Linked DNA regions of Homo sapiens: region 1 is linked to region 2. Evidence: promoter capture Hi-C in 16 types of primary human blood cells and fetal thymus (Javierre and others, 2016). All regions are on one chromosome and are shown on one strand. Each heading gives the region's core, a stretch centred on a gene start or on the middle of the fragment in contact. The rest is flanking DNA. Distances are from core to core; before and after follow the strand shown.

Region 1 (4,779 bases), core at 1,051-3,550, 110 kb before region 2:
AGATGGGGGAATGTAGTTTTCCCTAGGGAGAAGAAGATGGGCAGACAGGAACAGGGAACTGCTGTTTTTCATAATTATTTGACTCTTTCAGCTTTATACATTTATATCTTTGATAAGAACAAAAAGTAAAAACAAAAATAAAGATGGGAGAGAGAGGAAAGAAGGGAGGGAGGGAGAGAGCAACATATGTAGTTTTCATCTAGTATAACTTAAAAATGTCAATAGAAATATCAAATCCAAGCTACATTTGACAGGATTTTCCAAAGTGTAGTTTATTTTGCTTTGGTGAGTTGCAGGGAAAGGGCAGGCAGAGTCTATGTAAAAGAAACCACCCTCCTTTGCGTTTACAAGAGTAAGGAAACGAGGGCAAACTGAGCTGATGCTGGAGCATGCCTGGTAGTTATGTATTCAGAAATGAGCCACTCCGCAGTGTGTGTTTGCAAAGCCGTGAATCGTGGGCCTTTAATTTTCTTCGTGGGATTTTCAATAACCAACAGATGTTACTGAGCAATCTATAAAATGAAATTGTGAAAATAAAGGGAAAAAAAACCACCCACACCTTTTCTTTCTTTGCTATGTTCTTATGGTTGCTGCTACTTCACCCAAACAGATATTGCCTTTTCTGAAGGCACCAAATACCTGTTTGTAATTTGATTTTCAGAAATCTTAGCCAACATGTTCTGATTAGGCCTAAAGAAAATACGGTGTTGCTAATACCTCTTCATCACTGACTTACCTCCTTCAGGGGTTTGGGAAAAGGCTATTTTTTTTTTCTAAATTTCATCAGTGATATACTTGTGCAAAGCCCTGTGTGAAGACTGTTATCAGAGGCTGCCTCCTGGTAGATATGGACCCCCTGCCCTCAAACTCTCTACTATAGGTACATATTTTCTTATCTTCTCTGAGCATCACTTACTTTTAAAGCCATTAAAAAAAAATTGAGAGTTACAAAAAAATTCAGTCAGCACAAATTCCTAATGAAGGTGTTCAAAGCACCTTTTTTTTCTTTTTTTAACAGAGTCTCACTCTATTGCCCAGGCTGGAGTACAGTGATGCAATCGTGGCTCACTGCAGCTAATTGTTTAATTTTTTCTAAAGGCAGGGTCTTGCTGTGTTGCCCAGGCTGGTCTCAAACTCCTTATCTCAAGCAATCCTCCCACCTCGGCCTCTCAAAATGCTGCAAATACAGGCATGAACCACTGCATCGGCCTATAACTTTTTTTTTTGAGACAGAGTCTTGCTCTGTTGCCCAGGCTGGAGTGCAGTGGTGCAATCTCAGCTCACTGCAACCTCCACCTCCGGGATTCAAGTGATTCTCTTGCCTCAGCCTCCCAAGTTACTGGGATTACAGATGTGCACCACCACACCCAGCTAATTTTTAGTAGAGATGGAGTTTTGCCATGTTGGCCAGGCTGGTCTCCAACTCCAGACCTCAGGTGATCCACCCACCTCGGCCTCCCAAAGTGCTGGGATTACAGGCATGAGCCACCATGCCTAGCTGCGCGTTTTTTTTTTAATAGACTCCACTATAAAACATTTACTAATTCAACTCACATCCTTGAACTTAAAAACAGAGAAACAATCTAACTTACTGTCAACAATTGCTACAGGCCATGGGATGCCCCCTGCTTTTATGGCACCATGGACCCAGCATTTAGGGGAGGCAGTAGAGACACATCTAGGACTGAATTCCTACTCCACAAGTGTCTAGCTGTGTAATTTTTTAGGTATTAATCATGCCATACCTCAGTTTCTCTATCTGTAAAGTAAAAACTGTAAGGCCCAGCCAGGCACCGTGACTCATGCCTGTAATCACAATACTTTGAGAGGCTGAGGCAGGTGGATCACCTGAGGTCAGGAGTTCGAGACCAGCCTTATCAACATAGCAAAACACCATCTCTAACAAAAACTAGCCGGGTGTGGTTGCGTAAACCTGTAATCCCAGATACTCAGGAGGCTGAGGCAGGAGAATTGCTTGAACCCGTCAGGTGGAGGTTGGGTTGCAGTGAGCTGAGAGATCACACCACTTCAACTTCACTCCAGCCTGGGCAAAAAAGCGAAACTCCGTCAAACAAAAGAAAAGAAAGAAAGAAAGGAAAGAAAGGCAAGAAAGAAAGAAAGAAAGAAAGAAAAGAAAGAAAGAAAGAAAGAAAGAAAGAAAGAAAGAAAGAAAGAAAGAAAGAAATAAAGAAAGAAAGAAAGAAGAAAGAAAGAAAGAAAAGATAAAACAGTAAGGCCTTCACATATGCTTTACCACAGTAAGTGGCTTACTTCAGTAAGGCAATCAACAAACACAGAACTCTCTTTCCTCTTATTTCTTGAGGCATGGGGAAAGAGTATGCAGGCATGCCTACTTTCCCTTTCACATGACCCAGGTTCTGCACTGTCTCCTCTTATTTGGGATATGAGAAGAAAGGGAAGATGTTAGCCAATGAAAGACATCCTTGTGAGCTTGCATTCAATTCACATTAAAGGATCTGGAAAATCAGATCAACCCCCTGGGTTCTGCCCTTTCACTCAAGAGTCTGGACTTTGTTAAATCACCGGCAGATATATATTTTTTTTCGGTGACACTGTCAAATCAAAGGCCAGTGAGAGCTAGCAGGATTTCTCTCTTTGAAAAGGGTTTCTAAACAGAAATTACAGGACAATAGTAATTCACTTGTGTCCCTTTAGGAAACGCAGTAAAGAAAAACCATAAGCCATACAACAGACAAATAAATTAGCAGATTATAACCAGGAATTCCTCATCTTTTCTTCTTGGGTATTGTCTATATTATGATCTTGCATTTGTATAGAATAGAATACACAAAAATCTTAGGGCCTAGAATATTAGAGGCACTTAAAACCAGTAACCCCAATTTACAGATATAGAAACTGTTCACAGAGATCAATAGCCTTTTCCAACTTACTACAGCTTATTAGCAGTGGGTCTTATTTCTATCCATGCACTTTACTCTTTAGCTTGCAATTCACCAGCTTTAGCTTGCAATTTCAGACACAATGCAATTCATACACAATGCAATTCACAATTTAGCTTGCAATTCACTAGCTTTAGCTTGCAATTTCATACACAATGCAATTGTGTATGAAAACTGTATTTTTGCGTGCCACAGATTTATATAACTATATTATTCTGTGATTTAGGAATGAGCTAATAGGCTTTACTTTTATTTTAAGGAACTCTCAATAAAAGTTCTGCTTTTTATTTAAGTAAAAAATGTTAAAGGGCCGAGCACAGTGGCTCACACCTGTAATCCCAGCACTTTGGGAGGCTGAGGCAGGTGGATCACTTGAGATCAGGAGTTCAAGACCAGCCTGACCAACATGGTGAAATCCTGTTTCTACCAAGAAATACAAAAATTAGCCAGGTGTGGTGGTGCGCACCTGTAGTCCCAGCTACTCAGGAGGCTGAGGTGGGAGAATCGCTGTAACTCAGGAGGCGGAGGTTACAGTAAGCGGAGATCACACCACTGCACTCCAGCCTGGGTGACAGAGTAAGATCCTGTCTCAAAAAAAAAAAAAAGTTAAAGGGTGAGTGTAAAAGGAAAGGCTGGGTGTTTGGGGAATCAAATAGAAAATAAGGAAATTGTCTAACACTTCATTGGCAAGTCTAGAAATAAAAACGAGACTGTTTTTTCTGTTTCTTTCCTCCTTTGTATTGTCCTTAGGTTCCTCTCTGAAGGCAGAAATGTCAAAGATGCTTTGCTAAAACCCAAAAAGTTGCTATGCAACCTACATTTAAAATTATTTCTTCCTACCTAGAATCCCAGGGATCTATAATTTTGCCATCTAAGAGAGAAACATGCCACGTCAGAAGGAAGGAGAATATGACAGCAGATTTTGGAATCAATTGTCAATGTAGTTTGCTAGCTTATCATGGTTTCTTAGACACTGTGTGAGCAAATCTCACAAATGGAACTGATTTACCATAAAAATGTGCCTAATTTCCATTAAATCTTGTTCGTTGCTTTACTGAGGCACTGAAGTTACCAATGTTCCACTGGTTGACCTGCGGGGCTATCTCTAGGTTATGTTACTCCAGAAAATGAATTGTGTATAAAAGAGGCCTTGGAGGAAGGCGTTTTATTCGCATCAGTTGTTTTGCACATTGCTTAAGCTAGAGATGTTAGCAGCTTCTTAAAGAGAGCAGCGTTAGCCAGACCTTTGGGGCAATAGTGGGAAATGGAAGTTTCTCTGTCCTATGCTTGATAGAACCATGTCGGTTGAGACACGTTTCTATCATGCATAGGGCAGGGTATAAGAAATCTGTTTTCAGAGACTTCATGGGATAAATGAAGGCTTAAGAGCCCTTCATATCTCAGTTAAAATCCCAGAGCTGCTATTTGCCCTTGATGAAGTTAACCTTCAAAAGTCATTTCCTTCTTCTAGAATAGGCATGAACCAACTCAAGGGGTTATGATGAGAATTAAATTTTAAAATCATATGTAAGGTGCTCATCCCAGATGTGGTCATCAGTATGTACATAACAAATGCCAGCAATCTTTTTGATTACAGTGATGATGATTATTCTAATTGAGGCACTGCAATTTACCAGCAGTGTGTCCTTGAAAGCACATTTTCTTCAATTGGAAAATGAGGATAATAATATTTACCTTGCAGAGTTGTTCTGAGGACTAGAAATGCTGTATGGAAAGTAGCCACAGTATCTAGCCTCACACAGGTAGACTCTTGATAACTTGTTGTTCTTGCTATTTTCACTGCCACCTATTATTTATATAACAATCTGTTTAAACTTGAGAGAAGCCATGTTTCATA
Region 2 (4,528 bases), core at 1,246-3,745:
CATAGTAAGTGGAAGATAACAAAACTAATATTGGATAATATTTGTCCTCCTACCTCAGCCTCCGGAGTAGCTGGGACTACAGGCACTGCGCGCCATCACATCCGGCTCATTTTTTATTTTTAGTAGATATGGGGGGTCTTGCCATGTTGCCCAGGCTGGTCTCGAACGCCTGGGCTCAGGCGATCGTCCACCTCTGCCTCCCAACATGCTGGGAGTTCGAGACCAGCCTGGCCCATATGGTGAAACCCCGTCTCTACTAAAAATACAAAAATTAGCCGGGCGTGGTGGCGCGCGCCTGTAGTCCCAGGTACTCGGGAAGCTGAAGCAGAAGAATCGCTTGAACCTTGGAGGCGGAGGTTGCAGTGAGCCGAGATGGGGTCACTGAACTCCAGCCTGGGCGACAGAGCGAGTATAGAAAAGTTCTCGTAGAACACTGTTAAACAGATGAACAACTTCAATACTTGCTCTTCTCTGCTTGATTTCATTTAGTGTGGTGAGTAAAAATTTAAATTCCAAATATTATTTACACGCAATTATATCCAGTAGAATTCCTGTTTGCTCAAATGGGAAGTCCCTAGCCGTTACTCATGTTGTCTTACGTCTGTATTGAACTCTTATTAGTTTGTAAAAGCTTTGGCAGAACTTTACAATCAGATGGTATGATTTTGCAAAGCCACTTCCTCTTACTACCACTGGTCATCTGTCATTTATTGGGCTGCCGTAAAGCAGGATTCCCCTTAAATCAAATTAAATTGGAATCACTTGAGTAAGGCTCAGGTACTAGTATATATATACATATATAGATAGATAGATAGATAGATATATTTTTTTTTTTTTTGAGACGGAGTCTCGCTGTGTCGCCCAGGCTGGAGTGCAGTGGCGCAATCTCGGCTCACTGCAAGCTCCCCCTCCCGGGGTTCACGCCATTCTCCTGCCTCAGCCTCCCGAGTCGCTGGGACTACAGGCGCCTGCAACCACGCCTGGCTAATTTTTTGTATTTTTAGTAGAGACAGGGTTTCACCGTGTTAGCCAGGATGGTCTCGATCTCCTGACCTCATGATCCGCCCGCCTGGGCCCCCAAAGTGCTGGGATTACAGGCGTGAGTCACCGCGCCCAGCCAGGCACTAGTATTTTTAAAACATTCTCCAAGTAATTTTCATGTGCAGCCAGAATTGCAACTCACCAGGCTAAACTGCAGTTGCGCAATTCTGGTCTTCTTGATACCTGATTTCTTTGCCCCTTCTCTTTTCTGGTTCAATGCATAATAAGAATTTTCCAATATTAGTTTTATTAGCTTCCACTTACTGAATTCTGCTTACGGGGGTTCCTGCTTAGTCTAGATAGTAAGCAGGAACTTACAAACTATGTAAGCTTATAGACTACATAAGCAGGAACCCTGTAAGCAAGAACTCAGTAAGTGGAAGCTAATTAAAACTACGTGCCAGGCAGGGTGCCAAGCATTTTTTGTGCATTATCTCATTTAACTTTCATAGCAACCCCGAAGTAGGTGCCATTTCTATGAAACCTGCCCAGTTACTGCCCCACTCCGCGGAATAAGCTCTTACCCACCGCTCCTCTTCTTCAATTCATTTCTGTTATGGAACTGTCGCGGCACTACAAAGTCTCTATGTAGTTATAAATAAACGTTATCTGGAAGAGCAGCCGACAACAACTTTCAAGATCTCCAATTCCCCGACCCCACACTCCAACTGACGCCTTCAACCACAACTACTGAGCCCCACTTTCAAAGCTCACTCACTAATATTGGATAATAGTTGTCTGCCTACCTCAGCCTCCGGAGTAGCTGGGACTATAGCGTCTTACTAGCCAGCTTCAGGGCTAGAATAGCCTTTCTGTGCAAGTGGAAAAAACCTCAGGTATTTCCCAAATCGGTAGCTGCAGAGGGGCTCTATCCCTACCAGAGATGGAGAAAAGCCCTCTCGCGCTTTTTATGTCAGCCAGAGCGGCTCGTTAAGAGAGCGAAGGCCAGGGGCTGCACAGGTCGCATCCCGTGAGCATGAGGTCAGAGAACCTGCCCCTGGGGCAAACCGCGAGGGGTGGGACGGGTGGGTGCAGGCGGGGCGGAGGGTAGGAGCCGCCCTAGTGGCGGCCCCTGGGAGTGTCCCGTGCCTCGCCTTAAAGGAGGGCGCCAACGCAATTTCAGTATGTGGGAGACGGGCTGCCCCACCCCCGCGCGCAAAACCCTGGTTTAGCTTAAGGGATGGAGGCGGGGACCCCTGCGCAGGCTTGCGGCGTGGGAGGCGGCCGCCCGCGACCTACGACGCCGCGCGCCGGGAGGCTGAGAGTTCGGCGCCGGGAGGGTCCCGGGGACAGAAGAGCGCCTCGCCCGGTTGCCAAGGCAACCCCACGCGGCTGGAGAAGCCGGCGCTCGCAGCCCGGCCCGGGCCGCTGCCGGAAGTGACGCGAGTTCACCTGCCGAGCGGGGGCTGGGAGGAGGGGCGGAGGGTGCAGAGGTGCCGCCGCCGCCGCGAGCCAGTCGGGAGCGCGCGAGGCGCGGGGAGCCTGGGACCAGGAGCGAGAGCCGCCTACCTGCAGCCGCCGCCCACGGCACGGCAGCCACCATGGCGCTCCTGCTGTGCTTCGTGCTCCTGTGCGGAGTAGTGGGTGAGTAGGGGCCATGGGGTCCTCAGCACCCGCCCAGCCCGGGGGCGCTCGCTGCCCGCGGCCACCCAGGAACAATGGGGCGTGGGGGAGGGGGCGGGCGCGATTTGGGGGCGCTGCTGCAGGGGCGGCGGGGCGGGCAGAATTGCACAGGGGCGCTTTTGCTGGGCCGGGCGCTCCTGGAGCCGTCCCGTAGGGAGCCGCGCAGGGCGCGCGGAGTGCCCGGGGACGGAGCCCTCGGCGGGGGGTGGAGGCGGAGGGGCTCGGGCGCGGCGTGTCGGGTGCGCCTCGCAGCTCTCCCATAGCATTCTCTGCCCCGGTGCGGGCTTGCCTTTCTTTGCTCTCGCCGTCTCCCTTGTCAGCCTTCGTGTCGGTTCTCTCCAGCGTTACCCGATTTCAAAAACCTTGGGCGGCGAGTTTTCAGGTGTCGAGTCGCCCAGGCGGGGAGGCTGAATTGCAAACGCCATTATTCAATGGACATGGAGCTGCCCGGTGCCTCGGATCGGCCAGGCTACCTCTAGGAAAGAGGCGCTGAGCGAACGCCAGCCTGGACGGTGTTAGTCTCCTGGAAGCAGCTCGCCCAGGCAGGAGCTGCTAACCAGACGCGCATTGTGAAGGAGACCGTGGAAAATCAAAAGTGGGTTCCTGCAAAAATGTAGCATTGGTTTCTGCAGTCCTTGGGCGAAGTGCAAAGGAGAATTCAGTGACCTCGTTTTTGAGTTTGTAATGAGTCGTTCATTTTGGAGATAAGACGGGCTGAGTTGTACAGGGTAATTGCTAGAGGATTTGCCAAGTGCGTTTGTCGACTGCTCCTTTCTCTGGGAGGGGAAAAAAGGCATGTGAAAAATGCGTGGACCATTAGGAGGCGTAATCATTTTGACACTTTAAAAAACGGATTTTCCATGTCGGTGTTTTAACCAACTGATCTTGTTTGTCAAACTAAGCACTTGCTGCGTTTTATAACCAAATAATTCATTTTTAAAAATCCGTAGGTGGGATCCTAGGAGGCGCACTTAGTATAGCCTCTGGAAGGGTAATTTTTTGTTGTTAGGTGCTCTGAAGCAGGATCTAGTGGCCCTTTCTGTTGGGATGGCTCTCTGCTTCCTGTTGAAATGTTAATTCCATTGTTGGATGCCACAGCTGTGAGCATTACTCATGGGATCAACATTCTATTAGCAAGTCTAATCTTCGATCTGAGCCTATAGCACTACCTCCACCTTTTTGATATATATCATTTAGACTTGGCGGGCTGAAATGTCCAAAGTAAGCCTTCCGGAGAAGATGAAGGGTCATAGAACCAGTTTACAGGTACATTCCCACCTTTCTTTCTTTTTTTTCTTTTTTTTGTCTAGGCCGAACCTGAAGATGAAGTTGAGAACACAGTGTGTTCTCTGGGAAAAAAAAAAAAAATAGTTTTAGACCACATCTAAAGCAGAAAAGTGGAAGAACATAAATTATGTGGAGGAACTTTTTTTTTTTTTTAAATGGAGTTTCGCTCTTGTTGCACAGGCTGGAGTGCAATGGCGTGATCTTGGCTCACCACAACCTCCGCCCCCCGCGTTTAAGCGATTCTCCTGCCTCAGCCTCCTGAGTAGCTGGGATTACAGGCACCCCCCACCATGCCCGGCTAACTTTTTTATTTTTAGTAGAAACCATGTTGGTCAGGCTGGTCTCAAACTCCCGACCTCAGGTGATCCGCCTCCCTCAGCCTCCCAGAGTCCTGGGATTACAAGCGTGAGCCACCATGCCTGGCAGGAACTAGTTGTTGTTGTTTTAACGGGAATATTTAGATAATTGGATTTAATTTTTTTTTTTTGGAATGCCTCACTTTGATAGGCACAATTCTAAGAAATAATATTTTGATGCAGAGAGTCATTGTGCTCATAAGGTATACACGGGTACAGTG

What was found. Contacts are between HindIII fragments. The CHiCAGO score rates a contact against its expected background, and 5 or more counts as called.
Region 1: a contact is called between a fragment that was not itself captured here and the fragment with the promoter of CXADR in region 2, in 3 of 17 cell types (M0 macrophages, M1 macrophages and M2 macrophages). The highest score is 6.9, in M0 macrophages.

What each region holds. Positions count from the first base shown.
Region 1 is chr21:17,397,987-17,402,765 of GRCh38, forward strand. No RefSeq gene overlaps it. Among named protein-coding and RNA genes, the nearest start is that of LINC01549, 39 kb to the right of the region's middle. The HindIII fragment of the contact is 9,913 bases long and covers 1-4,779 here.
Region 2 is chr21:17,510,548-17,515,075 of GRCh38, forward strand. CXADR (CXADR cell adhesion molecule) reads left to right here and starts at 2,496. Exons shown (of 7, transcript NM_001338.5): 1 at 2,496-2,625. The coding sequence starts at 2,583. RefSeq lists silencers at 1,947-2,066, 2,127-2,666. The HindIII fragment of the contact is 5,305 bases long and covers 1,370-4,528 here.